Regions from separate parts of the Homo sapiens genome. Here all the other regions are linked to region 6. Evidence: promoter capture Hi-C in 16 types of primary human blood cells and fetal thymus (Javierre and others, 2016). All regions are on one chromosome and are shown on one strand. The core of a region is centred on a gene start or on the middle of the fragment in contact, and the rest is flanking DNA. Distances in the headings are between cores, read along the strand shown. Region 1 holds the start of HIPK3 (homeodomain interacting protein kinase 3). Region 2 overlaps EIF3M (eukaryotic translation initiation factor 3 subunit M). Region 3 overlaps ARL14EP-DT (ARL14EP divergent transcript). Region 4 overlaps QSER1 (glutamine and serine rich 1). Region 5 overlaps ARL14EP (ARF like GTPase 14 effector protein). Region 6 holds the start of IMMP1L (inner mitochondrial membrane peptidase subunit 1). Region 7 holds the start of CSTF3 (cleavage stimulation factor subunit 3).

Region 1 (4,099 bases), core at 1,343-3,842, 1.7 Mb before region 6:
TGCTGCTGCTGCTCTGGCTGCTAAGCGCCGGGCCCGTCTCCCTCATCTTCCTTCCCGGGGATTTGGGGTGGGGACGGCTTGGCTAGGGCGAGGGGTAGTGGGAGGCCGGTCGGCCTCCGGCTACTGGGGCCTACGGGCGACGCAGGGTGCGGGGCCCACGGCGATTGGGGCCCATTCCTGACGCCCCGGCCGGGAGCGGAGAAGGAAGACTGGCGGGAGTGGTGGCGACGGCGGGGCCTGCGGCTTGATCTCCTCAGGTCGCCGCGATGCCGGCAGTCGTCACTGAGGCAGCTGCCACCAGCCGCCCCAGCCTCGGGCCCCTCCTCCGCGCTCGTCGGCCTCGGCCACCGCCTCCGCAGCGCCACCGCCCGCCCGGCAGCGCTGCGCGCCCAGCCCGGGCGGCTCCGCTCCGCTCCGGCCGCGGCGCCTCCGTGAAGCCCCTCCCCGGGGTCCGCCCGCCAGTCCGCAGCCGCGCCCTTGTTGCCCGGAGCCCGCCTGCCAGCCCGTGCGGCCCCAACCCGGAGTCCCGCAAGCCAAGCCTCCCGCGAAAGAAGCATCCGTCAGCCCGGCTCTGCTGTTCTGAACCTCACTCCATGCCCCCTCCGCCAGAAATACACATTTTTAAAAAAGATCCCAATACCCGAAGAAAGGATGAAGATGCGGAAGCAGGATTTTACAGGCCTTTCGAGATCCCGGAACCGTAATTAAGGATCTGTTTCTCGGCATTTGGTCGTTAAAGGTCCCAAAATAAGTAAAGGGGAAATGCTCAAATGAACGACCTCAATCTAAACTAGGTTCTACCCGCTCCCCTATCCCAAAGAGTGAAGAGAATTGTAAAGCCAGGTTCAAGGACGGGGGAAGGGTCCTCTTGGAAATTTTAAGAGCATCTCTACTGTCCAAAACCCCATAATTGTGAAGTTCGCCCACCTCCACATTGGTAATTCTCCGTTAAATTAGTCGGTTTAACTCCCAAAGACTAGTTTCTTTCCTCCTGGAGATTAGGAAATCAACAGAATGGCCTGTTTCAGCTTACATAATCGTGGAACCATAGAATTTTAGGAATGAAAGAAGCTTTGCGATCCTTGGTCCCAACTCTTACACTCAGGAGTTCCAAGAAGTTTAGGTGACATGACCAAGGTTATACAGTAAAGCCCATGTCTCCCACCCCATCTTTCCTCCTTTTCCCTAGGAAACAAATGGCTTTCTAATACCTCACATTCAGAGTTGATTTTCTTTTATACCCGTTTCCTCAGGTTCCCTTTGTTCTGAATCAATGTCTAACCTTTTGGGAAACAAACACCTTTCTGGAATGGAAGTGTCCTTTCTTTGTTTCCTTCATAATCTTCACTAGCAAGATTGAATTTACCAGAGATGTATTTATTCCCAGAAATTTTCTATTGCAGTAACTGGGGCAGGGCAAAGGGAGTGGCAAATTGCTGCATACATAATACACATTTAATCCCTGCTGCTCTTCAAACCGGAAGATGAGTATTTTGGATAATGCCTTTAAGAGACAAAGGAGGCCGGGCGCGGTGGCTCGCACATGTAATCCCAGCACTTTGGGAGGCTGAGGCGGGTGGATCACCTGTGGTCAGGAGTTCAAGACCAGCCTGGCCAACATAGTGAAACCTGGTCTCTACTAAAAATGCAAAAATTAGCTGGGCGTGGTGGCGGGCGCCTGTAATCCCAGCTACTCGAGAGCTGAGGTAAGAGAATCGCTTGAATCGCTTGAGCCACTGCACTCCAACCTGGGCGACAGGGAGAGACTCTGTCTCAAAAAATAAAATAAAAGAGAAAGGATAGTATGCCCTGAGGCCACTGGAAATAACACTTTCGAATGACAGTTGTTTTCAGGTTAGAGAGGATAACCAGCTGAAAAGGCTTCCAATATAGAAGAACAAAACAATGGCTGCCTTTCAGAGAGATAGCCTATGAACCATTCCTTTTCACTTAGTATTTCGTTACTTTTTATTTTTCTTAAGAACAATAGTCAAAAGAATCAAAGAGGATAAAATCATTTACTCAACGGAGAAAGCTACAATAGTAGAAAAATCTGTCAGGAGGAACAGAGAAACTATTCCACTAGAACTTCAAATTTCAGAATTTTTGCAGACATTTAAGGAGGCCATCTCTAATGGAAGGCTTCCATTCCCTGTATTTGCTACATCCATGAAGAGATGGAAATGAGAGACAAGGATTTATTTTCCTTTCTATCTCCTGCATGTTGCTACTCACTACACTATATATTCCAGGAGGGGATTCATTCATCTTTTTTTTTTTTTAGATGAAGTCTCGCTCTATTGCCAGGGTTCAAGCAATTCTCCTGCTTCAGCCTCCCGAATAGCTGAGACTACAGGCATGCCCCACCATACCCAGCTAATTTTTGTACTTTTAGCAGAGACGGGGTTTTACCATGTTGGCCAGGATGGTCTCGATCCCTTGACCTCGTGCTCTGTCCACCTCAGCCTCCCAAAGTGTTGGGATTACAGGCATGAGCCACCACGCCCGGCCTCATCTTTTTTTTTAACCATTATATTGCAAGTGCCTAATACAGTGCCTGACTTGTGGTAAGACCTTAGTAAATGTTGCAAAATAAGTAAATGATATATTCCAGCCCCCCTTCACTTTATACCTATTGTCTCCTAACCTAATTTCTTTACCTCTAATCTCTTCCCCTTCAAATCTTTCTTTTTTTGAGGCACGATATCAGCTCCTCTGCCTCCCAGGTTCAGGCGATTCTCCTGCCTCAGCCTCCCAAGTAGCTGGGACTGCAACTTCCGCCTCCCAGGTTCAGGCGATTCTCCTGCCTCAGCCTCCCAAGTAGCTGGGACTACAGGCCCGTGCCACCACGCCCAGCTAATTTTTTGTATTTGTAGTAGAGATGGGGTTTCACCATGTTAGCCAGGATGGTCTTGATCTCCTGACCTGACAGAGTCTAATTTTGTCACCCAGGCTGGAGCACAGTGGTGTGATCTCCATTCACCACAGCCTCAACTCCCTGGGCTCAAGGGATCCATCCACCTCAGCCTCCCACCTAACTGGGATTACAGACACGCACCACCACAGCCAGCTATTTTTTTTTTATTTTTAGTATGGAGATGCGGTTTCATTATGTTGGCCAGACTGGTCTGGAACTCCTGGCCTCAAGTGATCCGCCCACCTCAGCCTCCCAAAAGTGCTGGGATTTCAGGTGTGAGCCACTGCGCCTGGCTTTCAAATCTATTCTGAACACAAACATCTAGATAATCTCCCAAAGCCCCTAATGTAGCTATTTTACAAAGTTTGAGGGTTGTTTTTTTTTTTTAAGGAAAATTTCTCATAGTGCTAAGATCTCTCAAAAATGCAGGCTGGGGGAGGGCATGGTAGCTCACATCTGTAATCCCAGCACTTTGGGAAGCTGAGGTTGGGGGATTGCTTGAGCCCATGAGTTCCAGGCTGCAGTGAGCTGTGATTTCGCCACTGCACTCCAGGCTAAGTGACAGAGCAAGATCTTGCCTCTAAAAAATAAAACAGGAAGATACTAAAGAAAACCTTAATGTTTTCATTCAAAAAAATTACTTAAGGGCCAGACTTGGTGGCTCACACCTGTAATTCTATCACTGAGCAAGACCTAGCCTCTTCAAAAACCCCTCTCTCTCTACAAAAAATACAAAAACTAGCCTGGCCTGGTGGTGCACGCCTGTAGTCCCAGCTACTCGGGAGGCTGAGATGGGCCCTGAGGCTGCAGTGAGTTGTGATCACACCACTGCACTCCAGCCTGGGCGACAGAGTAAGACCCTGTCTCTGAGTAAGTAAGTAAGTAAATAAACAAATAAAATCCTTCACAGAACTAGCCCACAAGGAACTCAATCAACTTTTTGTCTCCTTACTCCAGCCACTCTCTGGAGCTCCGTAGGTGCCTGGATCACCTTCTGCCTGAAACATTCCTCAAGTATAGCCATCCACCTTTCTTTCCTGTCCTTACTCAAATATTGCCTTCATGGTGAAGCCTCCTCTTCAGCGATGACCACCTATATTTACATTCCCTGTCTTTATCTTTCTCTTTAGGGCTTGCCATCATCTTAGATACTATGATATATATTTTCTGTTCCCTTGTCCC
Region 2 (4,042 bases), core at 850-3,349, 1.1 Mb before region 6:
TGTGATTTTAGTATAAATTTGAGACAATAACTGTCCAGACTAGGCAAATTTTTTTAGTTTATAATGTTTTACTATGATTTAGGGCTTTTTTTTCAAAGAACAAAAATTATAAGCATAAAAACTCAGGTATCAGAAAGACTCAAAAGGCTGTTTTTCACTTTGTTCAGATTTTGTTTCCAGGCATTAAGTGTGTCATACAGTTGTTGCCACTGCTGTTTTCCAAATGTCCGATGTGTGCTATGACTAAAAATTGAAAAATTAAACACAGTGTTAGTCAACCTTTTAGCCTCTGGTATTCTTTTATAATACTACAGATTTGAATCCAGTTAAAAGCAAGATTAAATATACCTAATTTAGAATAGTAAGAGAATTTAAGAATTACATAATTATTTAAAAAAAATCTTTACCATATTGATCCTAAGCCTTCTAATTCTCCTGAGCAACTATATAAAGCAGACATAAAAGTCATTAGTATTCTAGCCAATGCTCAGCCATTAAATGAAATGTGCTGGAAAATAGGACTCTTTCATTAAATAAGCTAATCACATTCAGTCTGAACTTTAATAAAATTATGATAAATAGCAACTATTTAACTACAGTCAAGTGATAACACCACCTTGGTTCTCTAAACATTTAAGTGAAATAATCGGAACAAACTAAATCGTTCTATAAAATGCTGCAAAGCATTAAATATCTTACCTGACAACTACTTTTCTCTGGGTCTGATCAATTTTGCAGTAGACCATTTTAGTTCTTACGGCTGAAAAAAGATGTTTTATATCGTATGTTATATGGAAAATTTCCAAGAAAAATAGCTAAGGTATGAAAACTGTGACCAAGTAAGCCATAATAAAACTTTATACTGTTTTCCAACATTATACACTGTTTAAATCTAATAAGCAAAACAGTATGGGGCAACCAAAAGAAAGGTCATGCATTTGTCCTATGGCTGCTGGGACAATCTATATTAAATAAATACTGCATACAGTTTTTTGCTGTTTTTTTTTTTTTTTTTTTTTTAAAGAATGCTAGGTGTTCTTCCCCTACCATCTCATATAGGGGAATAAACTAATTTCCTACTAAGTTATTACTTCTTCATAGAAAACTTAGAGCATTAGGGGAAAAAAGGTCAATAGTTCTGTACCTTTTATTAATCTTAATTGCATAATCCCAACTTTCAAATTTAAAAAGCTCAGAAAAAATTCCTGAGCAGTTAAGTTGCTTTATAATCTAATTGTTGGGGAAGAAGTTCTTGTTTCTAGGCTAATCATAAAAAAACTGGTAATGGTTAACACTTGAAAGATCACTTACTATGTGCCAGGCACTGTGCTTTACCTGTATTAATTCATTTAATTCTTACAACCACAAATGAACCCCTACATTCCTGTTTCACAAAGGAAGGGCCTGGTCTTAAATCCACATCTAATACTAAAATCTGTGCTCTTAACCACAGTGGTGTATTGCCTAAACGTCTTTGTTCTACGTGATTTCAAGGGATAGAATATAGCAGTTTATATTTCTACTAAATTTTCACCCTACAACAAATATATCCACTAATCTACTAAATACACATCTGCTATAAACAAATCTTTGTTGTGTAAGGCTCAGTTTCCAGATAAAAATCTTACTATGATCCATGTAGTAGATGAGAAATTCTAGAAATAAATGAAAATGTTCTGTCTGCCTTACCGTCAATAACAAATGCTTCAACATCATCAGCTCCAATCTGAAGTTCTTGCTGCATTGTGTCAAAAGAAATTTCCTTATTTTCTACTGCCATTCCCATAAAAGTAAGTAGTCTCATTTTTGCCATATTCTGTTCATGTAACAGGCCTAGAAAACAGAATAGTGAAGCCTGATGAGTGTTCATACTAATTAAAGACCTGCACAATTACATCTCATGTTAAGCTGTGGAAATTATTTTTACTTTTGTAATTGTGGAAATTATTGTTTGAGCACTTATATAGAACAATTTTGACAAAGCTTCTTATATTTGCAAACTATAAACTGACTCCACAGAGTATTAAAAACAATTTTTCTATAGTACCATAGGTGATAGATTCAAAGTTAAGAATCGGCCATAAAATGATTATTTTTAGACCCTAAAAGTTTTGCACATTTTACATTTTTAAATAGTTATACATTTTAGGAGATAAAATCTACAAAGTACATTTCATAAGAACAATTTCTATTTAGTTAAATTACCTAAGCTTATTTTTCACACTAATAGCTCTTCATTTAAACACAGAGGATTTCTTATCTACTTATTAGTTTTTTCTGTGTTACTATTACTGGTAAACCTGAAGTTTTAAAATACTTTCACAAACATTTTCAGTTATGAAAACATTCCATTTTGCTTCAGGTCACTATTTAAAAATCAAAACTACTTACAAACCAAAACTGTCAAAGTGTGTGTGTCATTTAACATTTATAGGCCAATACAGTTAGTACTAGATATAATTAAAGAATACCATTAAAAGTGATACTTGTTCTTTATAAGACAAAAGTAGAAAATTGCACAAATAATTCAAATTTTGCATTATAATTTCTAATGAAACATGCTGTTGTAATTATTCAAATAACAACAATGTGTTAGGCCTAGAAGAAAACTTAAGGAATTACCCAGTCCTGATCCTTTCACTTTAAAAACAAAACTGAGGAGCAAAGAGATTAAATGGGGACTTATAGTCAAAAAATAGCAGTGCTAGGCCTAGAATAGGTTCATTTCTAAAATAAAGGGCTAGAAATTTTAAAAATTAGGAATCCTAAATATATAACCTAGTCCTAAGTAGGAGCAGAATTCTAACATAATATCATATATACTTGTTTTGATGCTAACTTATTAATTATAAAACTAAGTTTCTAAAACTAATCTAGATTTACATGTTCCTTTTCTCTGAACTTTTGAACTATGTAAAATCAGCAAATGATCAATCAAGTGCCCTGTAATAAATTCAGAGCTTCAAGTCTGTATTGTTTAAAAAGTTCACTCTCTAAACACTCCATAAATAAATTTTAAATTTATAACATTCATATATTAGTGGAAGATTAGGGAAGCCCATTAACATAGGACATGATCATCTGTTAATTAGCTGTAATTATGATACAGGCTTCCTATTTGGCACAGATTCAACAAAAACATGATCACCATAACTCAAATGAATGAGGTATACAAGGAAGTATTGCTAACTGGGTTTAATGGAAATCTACAGGCGCCAAGAAATCAATTAGTGCACATTAACCCTAATTAACAATGCAAATTAGATGCCGATTAACTTTCTGAAGCAAAAGGTAGCAACTGGATAACACCAGATTACATGTGGACATGTTAGGGCAATTCAGTTGACACAAGATAATGCTACTGTTGGCCTAAGTTGTCAGTGTTAATAAAGGAAAATGTTCTGACAAACTGATTGCAACTTGTGGAATCTAGATAGTTGTCACTAGGCTTTCAGCTGTAATAAATGTTTAATTATAGAATTAAAATAAAAAATATACACATTAATATAAAGATGTTTTCTGAAAAGCATATAAACAAATTTCTAATAGAATACTGATTTGCATAGATGTTCAAGAAACGTAAGGCAAATGAAGGAATTTGAATTCTAGCTGGCACAATAAATTAGCAATGTTAACGAATTTTTTCTTATCAATGAATAAGTATTAAAGATTTTTTTCAAAAATTCCTTAACATTCTCAGTTCTATTGGCATGGACAGACAACTCTCTTTCAATATAAAGTGATAGAAACTTCTGAAATTTCTATTATTTTAAATACTCCTGAAATTAAATCTATTTTACTGCTTATCTTTTCTGCAGTTACAATCTTACCATAAATGAAAAAACTTATCAGAGGAATGAAGATTATTTCTAGGCTGAATTCCATAAAACCGTTATCTATTTTACATGTGAAAACTTGCATCTAAAAACACTTTAAATTGATGTTTAAAGTAACAAAGAACCAAACTTAAAACCCTTAGGACTCTTGTTCTGAAAAATCAAACTACTAAGGCAGTGAAGTATGAGTTAAAGACTTTGTAGGA
Region 3 (4,128 bases), core at 84-2,583, 1.2 Mb after region 6:
ATAACAATATTTAAGAGTCAGTTGATTTAAAGAAATGTGATATAGGGGATTTAACTAATGACTGGGCAGAAGGACAGATTGAAACTGTGTTTTTCAGCAGTTCTTCTGATTTGTCTCATTTAAAGTAAAGATTTCAGACTGTTGTGGGGGTGGCGTAGGGGAAGGAAATACAGATTTGTTCACAGCTGCTATTCAAAATACTAGCCATATAACTAGGAAAGAATTTGGCTCAAATAAAAACCCCAGGGCTCTTTATTGCCATCACAATCATTATTGTGTCAATTAGGATTCATCTGGGTGTCCACAGTGTGTTTGGCACAACGTCAAGGAAGGAAGCTGATGGTTACAGGAACCATTTTGGTTACATCTTCGAATGACCAAAATGGTGTGAATTAAATGCAGAAATTAATTATTAAAAATTAATAATTCAACAGCACTGGGAACAAAAAAACTAGAACTGGAAAAGGATTTAACAATTCTGTTGCATAGCTTCCTCATTTAGAGGTTGATGAGACTTAGTTCCGTAAATGGTAATGTTATACAACTAACATATAAATGACAATCTGTAAAGCTTGTACAACCAGTAAGTAATAGGGATAGTCAAGACTCACACCCAGGTTGTCTTTCTAAAAATGCAGTGTTTTTCCTACTCAATCAGGCTGCATCTCAATCTGTAAGAATCATATTCTTAGAAAACTAGAAAACATAATATCTATTTATAATATTAATATCAATTACTTCTTTTGAATTGCTCTTTTGGAAAATTGGTCAAGCCACTAGATTCTACTTGTTCTATCTATTTTGTATTAGTCATTATCTGTGATAAGAAGAGAAGGTAATGATGGCTTTGGTGGGGATGCTCTAGCTTTGGTGGAGCTTATTTAGATGAACATTATGAGCATTCTAAATATTTTTGGAAAAAATTACAAAACATTATAGATATTTTTGAGATTCCTTGAAAAAATTTCATATGGGCCTTTGGACAGATCTTTGAAGAGCAATACTGCCTAAAAGCCAGCAGAGGGAGAACAGAACATTGTTTTGCTAATTTTCACTAAGTTTCTCCTCATGCTCTTTTACATTTTATTTTTCCACATATTTAATACATTTCTTGACCATGAGATAATATTATCCTGTCCTGCACTTTTGGAAAGGGCAGAGGATGCTGCTATCATTGAATTAGAGTTTTGTTTAACTCACTGGTCAATAGGCTATCAAATGAGCTGGGTTAGACAGTTCTTAAGCATAGTCGGAGTTTATTTATGTGGCTTTCACATGTTTTTCTCTATAATAATTGTGTCAATTAGGTGATTTTAAATATTATATATAATCAAGTCAATTAATATAGATTCTCTCACCTCCAATAATTACTGCTAAGAGAAAGTTACGATGTAATAACAAGGTTTGGGATTATCTCATTAATGACTTGATGTTGCTATGTAAGAGGGCAAATGTACATTGACTCAAAAGAAAGTTGAAAATGATGACTTTTTATAATGAGAGTTTTAGAAATAAAATTCAAGTGCCAGTTAGTTGAAGTAATCACCTACTCATTCTTCCAAAAATCTTCAATACATTTCCACATTCACTATTGCTTTGTTTTCTGTATCTTCAAATTTTGAGGTACAAAACTGAATATACTACATACTTGTCCTCTAAGAATTCGTAAGAGACAGACACAGAAACAGATGATCAAAAATGTTAACAGTAGTGTTAGACATATTCATGAGGCAGTAAGTGGGCATAGAACACAGGCACCCAAACCAATAAAGGGAATCTGGAGTGGTTCCTGGAGGAGGGTCATCTGAGCTGAGATTCCTTATTTATGCTTAATTTATATTAATTCATTTATGCAAATGACATTTTTTCAAGGAATCTCAAAAATATCTATAATGTTTTTGTAATTTTTTCCAAAAATTTTCTGGGTTATTCCCTCCCCCATCCACATGGTTATGGTGAGAGCAGCTATTCTGTACATCATCACACTGCATCCCTGGGCCCCAAATGTTTGGGCCATGAGTGAGTACATGAAACATGCTGAGGCAATCAATGTCCCTCCCTAGGATTTTTCCACATGGGACTCACTGAAGCTTGAGAACTGTCAATTGCTATGTTTTCTGCCATTTGATAGAGGAAAACCAATAATAACCACAATGTGAGTCACATTGACATGCACAGGGAGAAGCAGAGACAAACTGAAGAGAATGCGTCTTCCAGAGAATGCATTCTGTTGTTACCTACAATAGATATACAATCACGTCCTTGCTCTCTGTTTCAGGAAGCATCCCAGTATCCTTACAGTAAATTTCTCTTTTTGCCTCCAGTTGGTTTGAACTGGCTTGCTTTCTTCTGCAGCCATGAGAATCCCAGCTGGTATGAAGAGTTACCAAGGCAGAGGAAGGGTGAAGGACATTTCATGGACTGCATGAGCAAAGCCACAGAGACATAAAAAAGCATGGCATGTATAGAGAAATATAAATAGTTTAGTTTTTTTGAAACAAAATGAGAGAGAAAGAGTGCTAAGAGCTTTGGTGAGAGATATGTCATTTTAAAGAGTTTAACTCTACCCTGAAGGCAGTGAAGAGCCTTACACTGGTTTAGACAGTGAGTGACTTGGTCAGATATGTGGTTTAGATAGATCACACTGGCAGGAGTTTCTTCAATAGTTCTCTCTTATCTCTGGGCTTATCCTATGTTCCCTTACCCAGGAACCTGGGGGAAGAAGATGGGACATAGAAAATGTATTATTTCACTAGCCAGAGCAAAGCCCAGAGTTATGACTTTTTATTATTTGCATTTTAATTGCTATTTAACAGTCTGTCTTCTCTTGCATTCTGAAAGTCCCACTGGAGCACAGGCCATGTCTAGTTTGTTTACCATTGAATTCCCAATGCCTATCTTAGTACCCAGAACACATGGTGATTCAATAAAAAGTTGTTAAGTGAATAAATGAGTGAATGAGTAAATAGTGATAAGGTGGAGGAGATAAATTCAAGATATATTTTGCAATAGTCAGGACTTGATGAGTTTTATAACATATCCTCCTTTACTGAGCACTTATGTGCTCTGCAGGGGACGGAGTGCTTTGCATGCATTATCTTATTTAAATTTCACAACAATCACCTGTGTAATATGTACCACAGCTCTTCCTGTTTTTCATATGGGGGAAAAAGAAGATTAAAGAGACCAAATGCTAGTTTGAACCATATGAAATTGCCACCTAATAACTTGCCCAATATAGTTAATGAGTCAGTAAGTACTCTACAAACTGAATGTGTGTTTCCTCACCAAATTTATATGTTGAAACCTAATCCCCAATGTGATGGTATTAGGAAATGGTACCTTTGGGAGGTAATTAGGTCACAGATATAGAGTCCTGATGAACGGAACTAATGCCCTTATAAGGGGCTGAAGAGGTCAGAGTTCTTCCTTCCACCATGTGAGAATACACACCAAATCTGCCAGCTCCTTGATCTTAAACTTTATAGTCTCAAGAACTGTGAGATATAAATATCTTTTGTTTATAAGCCACCAGTTTATGGTACTTTATTATAGCAGCCTAAATGGACTAAGACAAAGTGGTACTGAAACAGTTGAATATCCAGATGCAAAAAAGTAAACAATGATTTTTATGTCATACCACATACAAAAATTAATACAAAATAGATCACATATCCAAATATATCTAAACTATAAAAAAAGGTCTAGAAGCAAGTATGTGAGATATTCATTGTAGTTTTGGGTTAGACAAAATTTTTCTTAGATACAACCAAAAAAACAGGAACCATAAAATAAAAAAATGATAAATTGGATTTCATGAAAATGAAAAACTCTCACTCTTCAAAAGACACCAATGGAAATGAAAAGAAAAGCAACACAGTCTGATAAAATACTTGTAGACGTATGTCTGATAAAGAACTTGTTTCTAAAATATATCAAGAACTCTTATAATTCAATAATGGTAAGACATGACACAATTTAAAACAAACTTGGCTAAAGATGTGAAGACATACTTTGTTGAAGAAAATATATCAGTGGCAATGGTATGTGAAAAGATGTTCAATATCATTAATCATTTATAAAATGCAAATTAAAGCCACAATGAGATAGCACTACACATCTATTATA
Region 4 (4,049 bases), core at 1,448-3,947, 1.4 Mb before region 6:
GAAGGTTCTAAGCAGGGTAATGACATTACCTGACCTATACTTTTGAAAAGTTAATTCTGGCTGTTGCATACTTAATAAATTACAGAAGGCCTAAAAGGAGGCAAGAAAAGCAACAGGAGGCAACTGCAATTATCCATGCAGGAAATTATGGATATGGAGATTGAACCAACAGGATTTGCTGAGGGACTCAATATGGGAAGGAATGAAATGAATCATGGATGGCTCTAACCTTCTGGACATAAGCAATGGAGTAAATGGTGATAATAATTACTGAGGTGGGGAAGGCTAGAGGAGGCCCAGGTTGAGAGGGTGACAATCATGTTTTGGATATGTCATTTTGGAAATACCTATTCAATATTCAAATGAAGATGTCAGATGCTAGATATGAATCCAGAGATGTAAATTTGAAAGTCATCTCACATATATGGCAACTACACCTAGGGTCAGTGGAGAGAAAAGAAAAAAGGACAGAACTCCAAGTTTCTGAGCACTTCAACATTTAGAAGCCAAGCAGAGAGGAAGCAAGTGCATTACCCTCTCACCCTCCAGATCACAAGTTCTTTCAGAGGCAAGACAGTGTTTTTTTTTTCATTTTTGTGGCACCCTGCAGAACTCAGCTGAGAAACAGAAACTGAGAGATGGCCACTACATTTTAATGAGTGATTGCATGCTTGTCACTTGATTTCTCAAGCTTTCACTGCAGAAATATAACTCAAGGAGATACAGGTAACACTGCCTTAACAATTGCAGGTACTCAAATATTTGTTTAATGAATAAAAGAAAACTGTGTTTTGGTAGACATACTTTAGTACTCATTGTTCCAGAGAACATACCAAGGAAAGGAAGAAACAAGTAGTAGCCCATATCCCCACCCTGCTAACCAAAGATAATCACAAACTTACCCTTCATCTTGGTCCCAACTACAGGGTAGAGGGGGAATGGCATTAGAGGCTGCAACAGGAAGAAAGGGGCTTCCAATTCCCACACTGAAGCAGAGTTCTGGCTTTCATGATATAAGTATGTATTAAGCACCAACTATATGCCATGGATTAAAGTAAATACTAAGTACTACAAATATAACAGCAAAACACATAGGGGTTCTTCAAATAACCTCCATTCTGAAGAAGATACGTATTACATAAACAATACATAGGTATATATTTCTAAGAATATGAAAGTAAAATAAAATATTCTGTGAAAACATATACCATTGCACAAAGCAACAAGGAGTGAGGGTTGAAAATACTGCAGGTTTCTCACATGAGATACCTTAACAAGTCAGTCTGGGAGGTGGGGATAGGGTGAGAGTTATCTAAGTGAAGGTAAGACGATGTATGAAAACCTTAAGGTAAGAAGGAATTTAGGATGATTCAAAGAATTTAATACAGGCCAGTGCGAGGCATGGTGGCTCACGCCTGAGAGGCCAAGGCAGGAAGACTGCTTGAGGCCAAGAGTTCCCGACCAGCCTGGTCAACATAGCAAGACCTCATCTCTACAAAAAATTTAAAAATTAGCCAGGTGTGGTGGCACATGCCTGTAGTCCCAGCTACTTGGGAGGATCACCTGAGCCCAGGAGGTCGAGGCTGCAGTAAGCTGTGTTCATACCACTGTACTCCACCCTAGGCAGCAGAGTTAGACCCTGTCTCAAGAAAAAATAAAAAAGAAAATAAATTAAAAAAAATTGGTCAGTAAACGCAGAGCCATACAGAGCACATTACAATGTGTGTGTGTGTGTGTGTGTGTGTGTGTGTGTGTGTGTGTGTGTGTGACAGGTTCTCACTCTGTCGCTCACACTGAAGTGCAGTGGCACCATCACAGCTCACGGCAACCTCCACCTCCCAGGCTCAAGCCATCCTCCCACCCCAGCCTCCAGAGTAGCTGGGACCACAGGCGCACGCCACCATGCACGGCTAATTTTTTCTATTTATTTTTTGTAGAGATAGGGTTTCACCACGTTGCGTAGGCTGGTCTCAAACTCTTGGGCTCAAGCAATACTCCCACCTCAGCCTCCCAAAGTGCTGGGATTACAGGCGTGAGATATCACGCCTGACCATATTACAGATGTTTAAAAATGTGACCCTAATATGTAGGAGTAGCCATGGAAAGGCTTTAAGCAAAGGACCAAGAGCAAACTTGTAGATCTGTGTTTTTAAAAATCACTCTGGATGGTATAAGAAGAATGAATTGAAGAGAGGAAAGAAAAGGTCCAAGATGACTAAGTTAGGAAGCTACCACAGTTGTCCAAGTGAAAAATAATGGTGGCTTGGACCAGCTGGAGCAGTGGATACAAAAGAAGCAGACAGTTTCAAGACATTAGATTCAAAACAGTAGGTCTTAGTGACTGAGCACACACAACTCCCACCATCTGGCCTGGGCAACTAAGTGGACAGAGGTATGACTACTGAGATGGGCCTCACTAGAGAAGCAGAGGTGTGATGGGTGGGGAAAGCATATCATTAAGCTCAAGTAAAAGGTCAAAGAGGTAGTTGGTTATGTGATCAGGTTTTCAGAAGAGTCTGAGGTCCTGAGAAGAGTCTGCTCAAATATGGGCATCTCCACTGAGATAGTATTTAAAAGCATGGACGTGGATGTGAGTCCGCAGGAGAAAGCAAGGAATGAACAAGAAATTTATCAATCCCAAGCCCTGAGGAAACAGTAACATGCAGAGATTAGACAGAAGAGGAGTAAACACCAGTGAAGAACAGGAAAAAGCGTTGGGCCAGAAAAGTAGGAGGAAAACCAGGCAAGTACAGTGCTATGGAAGTGAAAAGGAATGTATTTCAACTAGGTAATGGTCAACGGTGACAAAGAACACTTAAATAAGGATATTAATGATGCTTAGGTTTCCAGGCCAACTCACAGAAACTCATTTCACATATAGGTGGATTACAGCATTCCACTATCTTACAATAAAGCAGTGCAGTACACTGGTTATCACATAGGCTCCAGATCTGCAATGCCCAGGTTTCAATCACAGCACCACTATTTACTAGCTATGTAGCTGTAGGTATAAATTACTTCATGTCTCTATCCCTCAGTTTCCTCATCCATAAAAGGATGGTAAAAAGAATGCCTACCTCAAAGGATTTTTATAATGAATTTTGATAAATGAATGTATGTATTCATTTATTCATGATAAATGAATTTTGATAAATGAATGTACGTGTGACTTAAAACAGCTAGCACAAATTAGTTGCTAGTGATGTAAATGACAGCTACTATTACTTACAACACGGTTTCCATGGGAAAAAACTTTCTGAACTCTAACAGTGGAAGTTTGTCTGAAATAACCTTTCATTAACTTGAGATTGTTCTTACGCCTTACAAATTATGATCTATAAGGCCTTTTCCCAAAAACCTTGAGGAAAACTCTAGATTTGAAATGTATCAAACAAATGTCCATCATATAGAAACTGACAGGTTTTAGAAGAGCTAATCATTACTTTGGTTTTTCAGAGGAGTATTTATCATACTCATTATACCTCATACTAAAAAAAAGTATGCATTAGGAATTCTAAAAACTGGTGCCAAAAGTTATTTCAAGTTAGAAAGGCAAAAAACAGGCCAGGCACGGTGGCTCACACCTGTAATCCCAGCACTTTGGGAGGCCAAAATGGGCGGATCACCTGAGGTCAGGAGTTCAAGACCAGCCTGGCCAATGTAGTGAAACCCCATCTCTACTAAAAATACAAAAATTACCAGCCTGGCCAATGCGGTGAAGCCCCATCTCTACTAAAAATACAAAAATTAGCCAGGTGTGGTTAGCTACTCAGGAGGCTGAGGCAGGAGAACTGCTTGAACCCGTGAGGCAGAGGGTGCAGAGAGCTGAGATCACGCCGTTGCACTCCAGCCTGGGCAACAAGAGCGAAACTCCATCGCAAAAAATAAAATAAAATAAAATAAATAAACCTATTTAAATACAAAATATTTCCATTCCCTTACTTTCTGGTGCATATTCAAATACGAACACATCGATTATCACCATAAAACAGCCTGCCTCTTCCTGTTGTGACCAAGATATAAGTATCAAGTACAGAATGCGGCAATGG
Region 5 (3,815 bases), core at 94-2,593, 1.2 Mb after region 6:
AGGTAAATAATTGGCTTCAACTTAAAAGTCACCAGCTGCATTCGTCCCTACCAAGAGAAACGGCCTGTCCTTTGAAGATTTGAAGCCAGGTATAGACTTCCCCTCTCTAGCTATGAAAGACGGCATCTTCTTCCATTAGAAGGCTGTTTGTTGGCTGGGCGTGGTGGCTCACACCTGTAATCCCAGCACTTTGGGAGGCCAAGGTGGGCAGATCACGAGGGCAGGAGATCGAGACCATCCTGGCTAACATGGTGAAACCCGTCTCTACTAAAAATACAAAAAATTAGCTGGCTGTGGTGGCACGTGCCTGTAGTCCCAGCTACCCAAGAGGTTGAGGCAGAAGAATCGCTTGAACGCAGCAGGTGGCGGGTGTAGTGAGCTGAGTTTGCGCCACTGCACCTCAGGCTGGGTGACAGAGCAAGACTCCATCTCAAAAAAAAAAAAAAAAAAAAAAAAAGAAGGCTGGTCTACATTGAAAATCTGTTGGGTAGTGTAGCTACCTTCATTAATAACTTGCTGCTTCACCTTGCACTTTTATGTTATGGAGATGGCTTCTTTCCTTACCCTCATAAACCAACCTCTGCTAGCTTCAAACTTTTCTTCTGAAGCTTCCTCACTTCTCTCATCCTTCAGAGAATTGAAGAGGGTTAGAACCTTGCTTTGGATTAGGCTTTTGCTTAAGGGAATGTGTTGTAGCTGGTTTGATCTTCTATCCAGACCATTTAAAGTTTCTCCATATTAGCAATAAGGCTGTTTTGCTTTCTTATCATTTGTGTTCAATGGAATGGTACTTTTAATGTCCTTCCTGAACTTTTTCTTTGCATTCACAACTTGGCTGTTTAGCACAAGAGGCCCAGCTTTTGGCCTGTCTCAGCTTTTGACGTGCCTTACTCCCAAGCTTAATCATTTCTAGCTTTTTTTGTAAAATGAGAAACTTGACTCTTCCTTTCACTTGAACACTTAGAGACCATTGCAGGGTTATTAGTTGGACCAATTTCAATATATTTGTTTCTCAGGGAATAGGGACACCTGAGGAGAGGGAGAGAGTCTAGAGAACAGCCAGTAGGTGGAGCAGTAAGAACACCCACAGCATTTATCGACTAAGTTCACCACCTTGCATTAGTGTGGTTCCTAGTGACTCAAAATAATTATAATAGTAACATCAAAGATCATCATAACAGATACAGTAATGAAAAAGCTGGAAATATTGCAATAATTACCAAAATGCGACAGAGATAGGGAGTACATGCTGTTAGAAAAATGACACCAATAGACTTGCTTACCACCGAGTTGCCACAAATTTTCAATTTGTAAAAATAAATAGCACCTTGTAAAGAATAAAGTGAAGCACCAATAAAATGAGGTATGTCCGTATATATATAATAACAATGCTTTTCAAATAAGTGAATTACTTTAATTGTAATTATTTTAACTCTCATGCCAAAATTATTTCTTCAGTTCACTGCTACCTTCTTAGAAACAAATTTTTGTAGTTGAAAGGGATACCTTAATTTTATATGAATAAAAACAAAGGCCTTCATAGGTTTTTACTAATTCTACATTATCCAATTTAAAATATGAACCCAGAAAATTCAAAATTTAAGAGAAAAATAGGGGAACAATGCAGATGTGAAGCAGCAAGTTAACATGTCTTCAGTAACACTTAGCCTACCTGTCTGAACCAGCGGTTGCATTTTTTGTAAGCCTTCTTTTTTCTCTTTTACCAGTTTCTGGAGCAAATTCAGTTTGCCTTCCTGGATTCGTAAATTGTAATGACCTCAAAGCTTTAGCAGTTCTTCCCTGAAGAAAGGTAAACAAATTATCAACTCAAATCTTGACAACAGACAACAGATTAACATTTTATTTAATGTTAAACCAGACGATTCCCTAACATGGAAGACAGTCTGGAACACACAAAAAAGAAAACAAGGTTTTAGAGCCTAAGTGCAAGAAAATTTACATGGCCCTAGACCATATTCAAAGCATATTGGTTAATGTATTAGTAACATTTCCATTATTTTATTTTAGTCTCTGGTATATTAGGAGCAGAGGAGGAAGGCATTGTGAAAACTGCAATGGCTGCTGCCAACACAGGAGAGAAGGCACAAAAACTGCTATATAATCCAGTGGCACATAACTGATTTCCTAACAATCCTGGGTCCTTATTATTGTATTTTATATATTTTTAAGAGCAGAGAATATGATTTCAAGTTCTAGAATAGTATTATAATCTTTTTGAAAAGTTTTGGTGAAACAAAATTTCGGTGTTTAAGGGTTTATGTTTGTTATTTGGGGAGGAAAGAGCTGCAGCTGATATATTCTACAAGAACATTGGATAGATAAGGTGAAGACATCTACAATGACACTATCAGCAAGTATCTAGTATGAACTACAGATAAACTGGGCCCTCAAGATGTTCCTCTGAGAAGACAACAACAGGAAAATAGTATAATTTCAAATTTCAACTATCTTTTAACTTGGTTTAATAAAAAGGAGAAAACTGAGAAAAATATTCCAGCAGTAAGAATTATGAAATAATTACAAGTAAAAATTCTGAGATGTGCTTCTTTGATATACTTGTCCTACACAAAAGATAGCTTTATGAAAACTTAAGTTGTTCTGATATGGTTAAATATGCATGTAGGCATGTCAATAGGAATAGAGGTAAAATATTTAATACTTTACAATGTAAAAATGTATTATTTTTTTTTTACCTCAAGGAGTCCTAAAATTAGCCTTGACCATATCAAGTAGGAATTCAGAACTAGAAGCAAAGAAAATTCACAAGCATTTAAAAAACTCAAGAACGAGACAGTGTCAAAGGAGAAAAAAAGAGTGAAATAAAAAACAATTACTGTAAGTCACCTCTCTAATGTTCCTTTTAAAGCAGTGATTTCCAAGTCCTTCATATAAAGGCGAAGTCATCCTGCTGCAAAGACCCTTGGTGGTTGCCATGTCCCGTGTAGTTACTTTGGTATCAGAAAAGAAACTAAATCCTGGCTTGGCCAGAATATTCTAAAACCCACTCCTAAAGTCTTCGCACTAAAAGTTGTAGCTTGGAGTCTTAGGCATATTTTATTATTACTTTCCCAGGCCTACTTTCTTTATCCCCCAATCTTGACCTTCAGTATATGTGAATAATATTTAGAAACATCATCCACTTTCACCCCTCCTTTTAATTCACTGTATGCTAACAAATTTAGTAATAATGTAAATATGATTTTCTTATAGTTAAGCAAAATCCTACATGGTAGAATTCACAATGTAGAAAAAAATGACTATTACACATACATCTGACTCAGGTTTCCTTTTCTGGCGGTCTTCAGTATCAACATCCACACTTCCATTGATTATCTGTGTGCATTTTGGACAAAGCTTCCAACCAGGTACAAGCTGTCTTCCAAATTTAGCACTCAGAAAAGTGGCATCATCTAAGTCAATTACATGCAAATTTTTTTTGGCTAATTTCTTGTGTATGTTAAATGGGTCACAACATGACTTCTGTAAATCCTCAAATCTGTCAATGTAAATTTTTACATGATGAAAGCAAATTGTATTGTTCCCAGAAAGTGTCATTCCAGTTCTAAGTTGAAGTAAAAGCATATCATTTGATGACAATTCTTGCAAAGTCTTAAAACCTGTGTGACGAGTATAGTAGGTTTTATGGCACTCATTTGTAGTACGAAGCTGGACTCCAACTGAACATGGATCCATCATTCTTGATTCTAGCAAATTTTCCGTTTTATTTTGTCTGGAGGTTTAGGTCATGGGCTGATCACCCTAGAGAAAATATTAAAGAGAATCAAATTTGTGCT
Region 6 (3,772 bases), core at 326-2,825:
TACCATGCAACTCAGGAGGAAAATATATTTGAAACAATTAAGTGAAAAATACTTAAACTTATCTAGAAATAACCGGAAAATGAAATGAGAGAATCAAGAAGCCATACTCTTTCTCATAGGTTGCTGGTCTTCTTACTTTCTCTGCACTAAACCTATGAAAAGCCTACTTTGAGGGGAAAATAACCGAAAGAAATGTCAAACGAAGTACAAGAACAAGCAATGAGTTATATTTTATGAAAGTGTACAAGATTTAACAGACACATATCACACACTATGAAAAAAGTTATGTAAACACAGACGGGGTTTTAATGAAACAGCATTCAGAAATTAATCTAGAAGCTTTATTAACACAGCAAATCTGTCCTACCAACTTAATCTGGTCATTCCTTTGAATATAACAGTTATGAAACAAGCATATTCTTCAGCAGGCTTCTCATAAAAAATTCCAGAGATTTTAAAGGAAAGCCTAAGAACTAGACTTTTCTCGTTAAAATGTGAGTTAAATTTAAAGATGTCGTATGGAATGTAGCAGCAATCAATACTGGGAAGCAAAATGTATATAGAAAAAATAAAAAATATATACACAGATTTAACGCAGACACTATCTAAATATCAACGACAGGCTCAAAATACTTTATAAGGATTATGTGTCAACATAAGCCTTTAACATTCGCTCTCTTAAAGCCAAAATGTTTTAAGATTTAGAACCAGAGAACAGGCAGTCTGACGGTCAAAGAGGGGAAATCATTTTTTTCCAGCATCTTCTAATGAAGTCTGTCTCTCACAATTATAAAAACTTTTGCAGGCTGGTCTAAACCGTGAGCTGCCTGGAGAAAGCAGAAGGGAGGTATCCTGAATGAAAGCCAAACCATCTCCATAAATTAATGTCTTCCCTTGACTAGAAAGCATTTCAGGGTAAAAAGCATGTACGAATTCCTCCGTAATATGAAAAGGGGTTGGAGGGCAGGGAATGAAATAGAGAGCGAGGGCACTAAAACATGTTTAGTTAACAGCGCTCAGAAGTCTCCACACAACCCGTATTCCCCTCCATCTCAATCAGACCAGGCTATTCTCTCCTCCTCCGAAGGTTTAGGGGTCAGAAAGAGATGTGGGGTCAAAGTGGCTTCCCCGACAGGTCCCCTCCCTAAGTTTCCCCTCGGCTGAGCCCAGATCTCCGCTCTGAACCGACCTAAGAGCTGGTCTAGGGCTGGGAGCCCGGTTGATACCAGCAGCTGTCCATTCCGCACCGACGGTCGCGTGCCCGCAATGGACACCAGTCGAGGGCCGCTGTCGTTGGTCACGCTGGCTCTAGGACCCCTCCTCTGGAAACTGGTGACGTTGCTCTTGCTGGCTGTCGCCACTGCAGACCCAGTACTCGCGGCAACACTACCGCAGGTTGCCACTGCCGCCATCTTAGAGCCTCCAGTGTTAACCCAATAGGAACTCTGGGAACGCAAACACCCGTCCTATCAGAACCAGTGCCAAACTCCCGCCTCCTCGCCCCAACCGCGGCTCTCGTAACCAATAGGACTGAGACGTCAGTCCCGAGCCAACCAATCGGAAGGCGTATTGCTGAAAAGTGCGCCCTACGAAAGGACGGTCGACTTCGGCGGGGCCCAGGTGAGAAAGGCCCACCTGTGTCCTGGTTGAGGGTCTCCAGGGTTCTTTGGGGCCCGAGGTAGGTAATATCACGTAACGTTCTTCTCCTTTTGAGTGCCTTCATTCACATTGAGTTAAAGAAAAGGTTGGTGAAACAATAAACCCTTAGGGCTTATCAAGCAATTGCTAGCACCTTTCTCCGCTGTGTGTGAGGATAGACTTTTTTCCTGCTCATTTATCTTCTGATTTCTGATAGAAAATTCACTCCGCCTTCCCCACGATGTCTTTTTCTTAATTTTGTGTTATATGGAAAGGATGGGATCTCTTACCTTAATGAGTTGGTTGCTGAGCGTCTGGGCTTAGTTCGTTAGTGCCTAGTGGTAGGTGGTTTGGAATTAAACCTTAGAGCGAAAACTCTTGAACTTTGAGGCTATCTGGTTTTCCTGTGTCTGACAAACTATAGCTCTCTGACAAGTTCCGATAAGAAGCTTTTGTTAATTTTAATTAGTGTTTCTGGAAGTCTTGGATGTCTTTCCTAAGCGGTGTAAATGACAAGTGTTACTCTGACAACCTTGTTCACACATTTAATTGTCGTTTGCTGTTAAAGCAGCTGCAAATAACAGAAAATACTTAGGGTTTCTTTCCCCCAAAAAACTGCTAGGAAGAATTAGAAGTATACCTACTTTATTTTATGAACCCTGAATCGAGAGTTTATTACTAAAATACCAATTTTATGTGTGGAAAAAACATGTATTTTGAGTTGTATTTTTGTATTTAATTTTTTTTTCAAAACTGAGCAGGGACAGTGGGTAACTGATGTTTAAAGGCAATCATGATTGACAAATGTCTAAATTGAAAAGGACTCCCAAATCATTACCGCACTACTGAGTTATTGACTTTGACAGTGATCTGTGATACCTTTTAATTAGAGCCAAACCTCATTGAAATTCTTGCCATCGAATTGTTTTAAATCTCACTGACCTGTTGAAATTTTTGGGCTGATTCTGTTTGATAAATTGAAATTAGTATTGCTAAATAGTGACTGGAGTTTTTCATTTGGGGAGGATTTTTGTTTGTTTGCTTGTTTTTTAGAATCATGTTTAGGAAAAAACCCTGTTTCACAATATATCAACTGGAAAGCTTTGATCAAGGTTGCTTTCATATTGAATCTTTAAGTTACTCAATAAATAGCTGTTGAGTGATTACTGTCTGTTTGGACTTAATCTTGTCATTTTAGACCTATGGTAATAAAAATGGTCTCACCTGGAGGAGATAAAATTAACACATAGAAAACAACATAGTACTTAAAATGAACACATTAAATAGCATGTGCTAATTTTATCCTGTAGTAAATAAGCACTAGGAAGACCAAAAGAAAAAGTGACAAAGCAGTCCAATATCAGATAGAAACGTCTTGAATTTTTTTTTTCTTCAACTTTTGTTTTAGGTTCTGGGCTTCATGTGCAGGTTTGTTACATAGGTAAACGTGTGCTGTGGTGGTTTGCTGCACAGATCAACCCACCACCTCGGTATTAAGCCCAGCATCCATTAGCTATTCTTCCTGATGCTCTCTGTCCCCCCACCCCTACAAATATTTTTGATGCTGTGAACTTTTTGAAATGCTACATATAATTATTATTTTTTGACAGATGGCATTGTTTTGTGTACCTCATGATGCTATGAAGTGTATGTACATTCCGGAATCGTTAAATCTAGCTAATTAGCAATGCATTACCTCACATAGTTATCATTTTTGTGGTAAGAGTACATAACATCTACACTGTTTACATTTTTTTAAAGAATACAATATATGATTATTAACTATAGTCAGCTTGCTATAAATTCATGTTATATAATAGATTTCTTGAAATTTATTCCTCCTATCTAACTGATATTATGTATCTTTGACCAAATTCTCCCCATCCCCCCTGCCAACCATCCTGGCCTCTGGTAAACACCATTGTACTCTCTGTGCGATGAACTATTAGATTCCACCTATGAGTAAGATCATGTGATATTTGTCTTTCTGTGTCTGACTTATTTCACTTAACATAATGGTATAATTCGTTTTTATAGGCTTCTGTATTACATATTCCCTTGTTTCCTACTGTATTTACTTAACCCTTTAGATTTCCCAAGATGATGATAGTGGTGCTTTGTTTGCCTCATTACT
Region 7 (3,767 bases), core at 325-2,824, 1.7 Mb before region 6:
TCGCACCACTGCACTCCGGCCTGGGCGACAGAGCAAGACTCTGCCTCAAGAGAAAAAAAAAAAAAAACCTAAATGTTCCAAAACTCAAAACGCTCCAAAATCTAACTTTTTAAGCACTGACATGACTCTCAAAGGAAATGCTCATTGGAGTATTTCAGATTTTGGATTTTCAGATTAGGATGCTAAAGTGGTAAGTATATATACGTAAAACACTTTCATATTCTGCTTTTCTTCATTTAATACGGTGGTTGCCTTTCTGTCAGTCATCGTACATTAGCATCAGTTTGCTGTGTGATATTCCATTGCAGAGATAAATCTTGTGATATTTTTAACCAGTCCTCCATTGCTGGATGGTGCAATGAACATCTGTTAATACATATCTTTTGCTCATGTGTCTGATTATTTTAAGGGTAAGATTTCAGCCTGTGGAAAGGGAGTAAGTGTAAGTTTGAGCAGAGGAAAGGAGACCTAAAAGAATAAGGCGAGTCTGGGAACAGTTCACTAGGTTATTTTAGGGCATTGGACCCCCGTAGGCGAGAAATGCTTGCAGACATCTAACGATGACGCTTAAATGGAAGAGCAGTTTGAGAAGATTTAGTATCATTTAATTTTTTATTTTTTATTTTTTTTGAGACGGAGTCTCGCTCTGTAGTCCAGGCTGGAATCTCGGCTCACTGCAACCTCCGCCTCGCGGGTTCAAGCGATTCTCCTGCTTAAGCTTCCCGAGTAACTGGGACTACAGGCGCAAACCACCACGCCCGGCTACTTTTTTTGTATTTTTGGTAGAGACGAGATTTCACCAAGTTGGCCAGGTTGGTCCTGAATTCCTGACTTTATTTATTTATTTTCTGAGACGGAGTCTCGCTCTGCCGCCCAGGCTGGAGTGCAGTGGCGCGATCTCGGCTCACTGCAAGCTCCGCCTCCCAGGTTCACGCCAGTCTCCTGCCTCAGCATCCGGAGTAGCTGGGACTACAGGCGCCCGCCACCACGCCCGGCTAATTTTTTTTTGTGTGTGTGTGTATTTTTAGTAGAGACGGGGTTTTACCGTATTAGCCAGGATGGTCTCATCTCCTGACCTTGTGATCCGCCCGCCTCAGCCTCCCAAAGTGCTGCGATTACAGGCGTGAGCCACCGCACCTGGCCTAGAACTCCTGACTTTAAATGATCCATCCGTTTTGGCCTCCCAAACTGCTGGGATTACAGGCGTGGGCCACCGCGCCCAGTCAATCTCATTTAATCTTAATGCCAGGTACTGTTCTAACACTTTTCTATGTATAATTTATTTCACTTGCAGGTACTATTATTATTCCCATCTATAGGCCAGAAAGCTGAGGTACGAAGTTTAATTACCAGAGTTACTTATCTTCGTTAAAATCCAAGCAGTCTGGGCTACAAACAATTATACCTACTTTGCAGTCAAGGAACCAAGCTGAGATGTTGAGCTGAAAACCCAGGTCTCAGACTTCAAAGCTTTCTACACAAGAGTCGACGGTGGCAGTAAAAATTAATGGGGGCTTGATCTATCCCTCCCACCCCCAAGAAAAGTAAAAAGCAGGAGCTGGGACCAGAGAAAACCTCCACGGAGTCCTTATCCCCTAAATATAAGAGGCATTTAACGTTTAGCATTGCTGACCTGCAATCAGGCTTCAACTGTGAGTAGCCAGGCTCTAAAGCTTGATAACTGAATTCCAAAAAGCGCGCGAGCCTCCAGGCGAAACAGCTTCCCGCCTTCCAGCCGGTTGGAGCCGGCTCAGCAACAGCCTCTCCAAGCCAGGGTAGTGACGTCAGCCCAGGAATTGGGCCCGCCCCGGGATCTCGCTGCTTTCTGCACGCTCGGAATAACCAGAGTCGCGAAATTAGCCCCGCCCACTGCCCCGGAAGTTAATGCGGAAGCCACACACCTCCTCCTCGGCCGGCAGGGGCGCAGCCATTTTAATTCATATTTGAGTGGGCGGTGGCGATTGGTGTTGGCGGTCTGGCTCAGCTGGGCAGGGGGTAACTTTACTGATTTGGGGGTGGTTTTTAGTTTAATTTTTCTTTTCTAGCTTCCCATCGACGGTCAGTGCGCACGTTGTAATCAGCTGAGGCCATGTCAGGAGACGGAGCCACGGAGCAGGTGAGGAAGGAGAGTGGTGGGGCCTCGTGGCGACCTCTTCTCCACGTCTGTTCCTCCGACTGCTCCAGACATGTTCGGCTGAGGAAGGAATTGGGTCTAGTGAACCCGGGGGACAGGGTATATAGAAGAGTGGTGGGAATGGGGAGCAAGATCTAAGATTTAATTTTTTTTTTTTTACTTCTCTCTCTTAGGCATGAATACGAGTAAATACTTGATTTAGACAATAGCGGTAGGCTGCTTCGTCCTATTTAGATTCATGGGACTACTCCAGATGGGATGCTTTCCTTTGATATCGTTTTGGTATTAGAGTGGATAGGAATTATTTTAACGTGCACCCGACGTTTTAGAAAAACTTGACAGTGTTTCTTTTACCCCGCCAAATATACTGTACCCAGAAATAGGTTACTAGTTTGAGAAATATTTGAGACAAAGCTAATCTGGAGAATTAAGACTTAATGAGAGCGAGTGAAGAAAGAAGCAAGTTATGCTGAGGTTTTGGGAATTTTGTGGCTTTCTTTCGTTTTCTTTTCTTTTAGCCACATTTCGTTTTCATTTTTCCAGCTACATAAACATTGCAGGTATAAGTTGAAAATGAGAAGTCTGTTTTGGCCACTGTAAATAAAAGCATCTGTTTTAATAGTAAATATGAGTGACAACTAAATATTTTAAAATTCACACTTTTAGGTTAGATCAGTGTGATTTGTTTCTTTTGCTCTTTGTATTCAGAATTTTGTAGGATAGTATTTACCTTTTAGTGTGAAAGAGGAAGCTAAATAGTTATGAAAAATGCCATTAAATGTGTTTTTCGATCTAAGTCCTGGTGTGTTTAGATAAATACAGTTTCTAAAATGGAGGCTAGGTAGCCTGCAGTCTCAATTTCCTGAAATTTCCCATTGCCATAGCAACGACATGCACTTAGGTTTTCGTTTTTCAGGTTCCCTAGCTTATAACGTGGAAGATGTTATTGGAGGTTGGCAGAGATGAGGCAAAATAGGAGCGTTCTATTGCATAGTCTGTAAGACTGTAGATTTCATTATGTCGGCAGTTTGATTAAATTGTTTTGTGTTTGCCCGAGGACTGGTTTCAGTCCAGAAATCTTCGCACTATTTACATTTTACATAGTGTTAGCATGCCCAAGCATGCAAAGTCTTAAAATTACTGTATCAAAACTGTTTACCCCTTTTCTGATCTAGTATTTGTTATCTGAAAGTGAAGGACTAATGAACTGAGGTTTCATTGAAAGTTTTCGAAATTCATTGTTAATTCTTAGAATTTATCTAAAATTACAAAGACACGGAAATGTTACCATGACCTCTTGAATGTTTTAGAACTGTGGTGTTTCAGTGGGACAGATGGTGGTGAAAATTTATAGAAAAATAATTTCTCCCAAAGGTTTTATTGTGCAAAGTTTAGAACATAGAGAAAAGTTGAAAGAAAAGTGCAGTGAACACCTGTAGGACAACTCTTCGCCTGGAATCAACAGCTGAAAGCCTTGCCATATTTGCTTTATCTCCCCATGCTGATAGATTGAGAACAGAGTCTTTGTCACTCACACTAGAGTGCTGTGACGCCATCACAGCTCACCATAGCTTCGACCTCCCTGCGCTCTGTGATCCTGCCACCTCAGCCTCCTCCGTAGCTGGGAGTACAG

The links. The method cuts DNA at HindIII sites, captures the fragments that hold promoters and counts their contacts. A CHiCAGO score of 5 or more calls a contact.
Region 1: a fragment that was not itself captured here is called in contact with the fragment with the promoter of IMMP1L in region 6 in 2 of 17 cell types (total B cells and activated CD4 T cells); the score reaches 6.6 in total B cells.
Region 2: a contact is called between a fragment that was not itself captured here and the fragment with the promoter of IMMP1L in region 6, in 1 of 17 cell types (naive CD4 T cells). The highest score is 5.5, in naive CD4 T cells.
Region 3: a fragment that was not itself captured here is called in contact with the fragment with the promoter of IMMP1L in region 6 in 3 of 17 cell types (naive B cells, total B cells and monocytes); the score reaches 8.0 in naive B cells.
Region 4: a fragment that was not itself captured here is called in contact with the fragment with the promoter of IMMP1L in region 6 in 1 of 17 cell types (fetal thymus); the score reaches 8.0 in fetal thymus.
Region 5: a contact is called between a fragment that was not itself captured here and the fragment with the promoter of IMMP1L in region 6, in 2 of 17 cell types (total B cells and naive B cells). The highest score is 5.4, in total B cells.
Region 7: a fragment that was not itself captured here is called in contact with the fragment with the promoter of IMMP1L in region 6 in 6 of 17 cell types (fetal thymus, activated CD4 T cells, total CD8 T cells and 3 more); the score reaches 12.2 in fetal thymus.

Annotation. Positions count from the first base shown.
Region 1 is chr11:33,253,581-33,257,679 of GRCh38, reverse strand. HIPK3 (homeodomain interacting protein kinase 3) reads right to left here and starts at 299. Exons shown (of 17, transcript NM_005734.5): 1 at 1-299. RefSeq lists a silencer at 215-544. The HindIII fragment of the contact is 3,038 bases long and covers 1,074-4,099 here.
Region 2 is chr11:32,598,480-32,602,521 of GRCh38, reverse strand. EIF3M (eukaryotic translation initiation factor 3 subunit M) reads right to left here. Exons shown (of 11, transcript NM_006360.6): 9 at 1,690-1,833; 10 at 700-760; 11 at 1-243. The coding sequence ends at 123. Among named protein-coding and RNA genes, the nearest start is that of EIF3M, 17 kb to the right of the region's middle. The HindIII fragment of the contact is 227 bases long and covers 1,986-2,212 here.
Region 3 is chr11:30,311,715-30,315,842 of GRCh38, reverse strand. The region is part of intron 1 of ARL14EP-DT (ARL14EP divergent transcript); the gene reads left to right. Among named protein-coding and RNA genes, the nearest start is that of ARL14EP-DT, 9.2 kb to the left of the region's middle. The HindIII fragment of the contact is 1,519 bases long and covers 574-2,092 here.
Region 4 is chr11:32,896,202-32,900,250 of GRCh38, reverse strand. The region is part of intron 1 of QSER1 (glutamine and serine rich 1); the gene reads right to left. Among named protein-coding and RNA genes, the nearest start is that of QSER1, 5.4 kb to the right of the region's middle. RefSeq lists an enhancer at 468-657. The HindIII fragment of the contact is 4,008 bases long and covers 694-4,049 here.
Region 5 is chr11:30,330,851-30,334,665 of GRCh38, reverse strand. It overlaps ARL14EP (ARF like GTPase 14 effector protein), which reads right to left. Exons shown (of 4, transcript NM_152316.3): 2 at 3,292-3,780; 3 at 1,673-1,800. The coding sequence starts at 3,717. Among named protein-coding and RNA genes, the nearest start is that of ARL14EP, 9.7 kb to the right of the region's middle. The HindIII fragment of the contact is 886 bases long and covers 901-1,786 here.
Region 6 is chr11:31,507,425-31,511,196 of GRCh38, reverse strand. IMMP1L (inner mitochondrial membrane peptidase subunit 1) reads left to right here and starts at 1,575. Exons shown (of 6, transcript NM_001304274.2): 1 at 1,575-1,678. It overlaps ELP4 (elongator acetyltransferase complex subunit 4), which reads right to left and starts at 1,430. Exons shown (of 10, transcript NM_019040.5): 1 at 1,190-1,430. The coding sequence starts at 1,412. RefSeq lists enhancers at 1,126-1,415, 548-1,437. The HindIII fragment of the contact is 1,748 bases long and covers 342-2,089 here.
Region 7 is chr11:33,159,648-33,163,414 of GRCh38, reverse strand. It overlaps CSTF3 (cleavage stimulation factor subunit 3), which reads left to right and starts at 1,935. Exons shown (of 21, transcript NM_001326.3): 1 at 1,935-2,116. The coding sequence starts at 2,090. It overlaps CSTF3-DT (CSTF3 divergent transcript), which reads right to left and starts at 1,758. Exons shown (of 4, transcript NR_034027.1): 1 at 1,634-1,758. RefSeq lists enhancers at 1,551-1,970, 2,706-3,573. The HindIII fragment of the contact is 203 bases long and covers 1,473-1,675 here.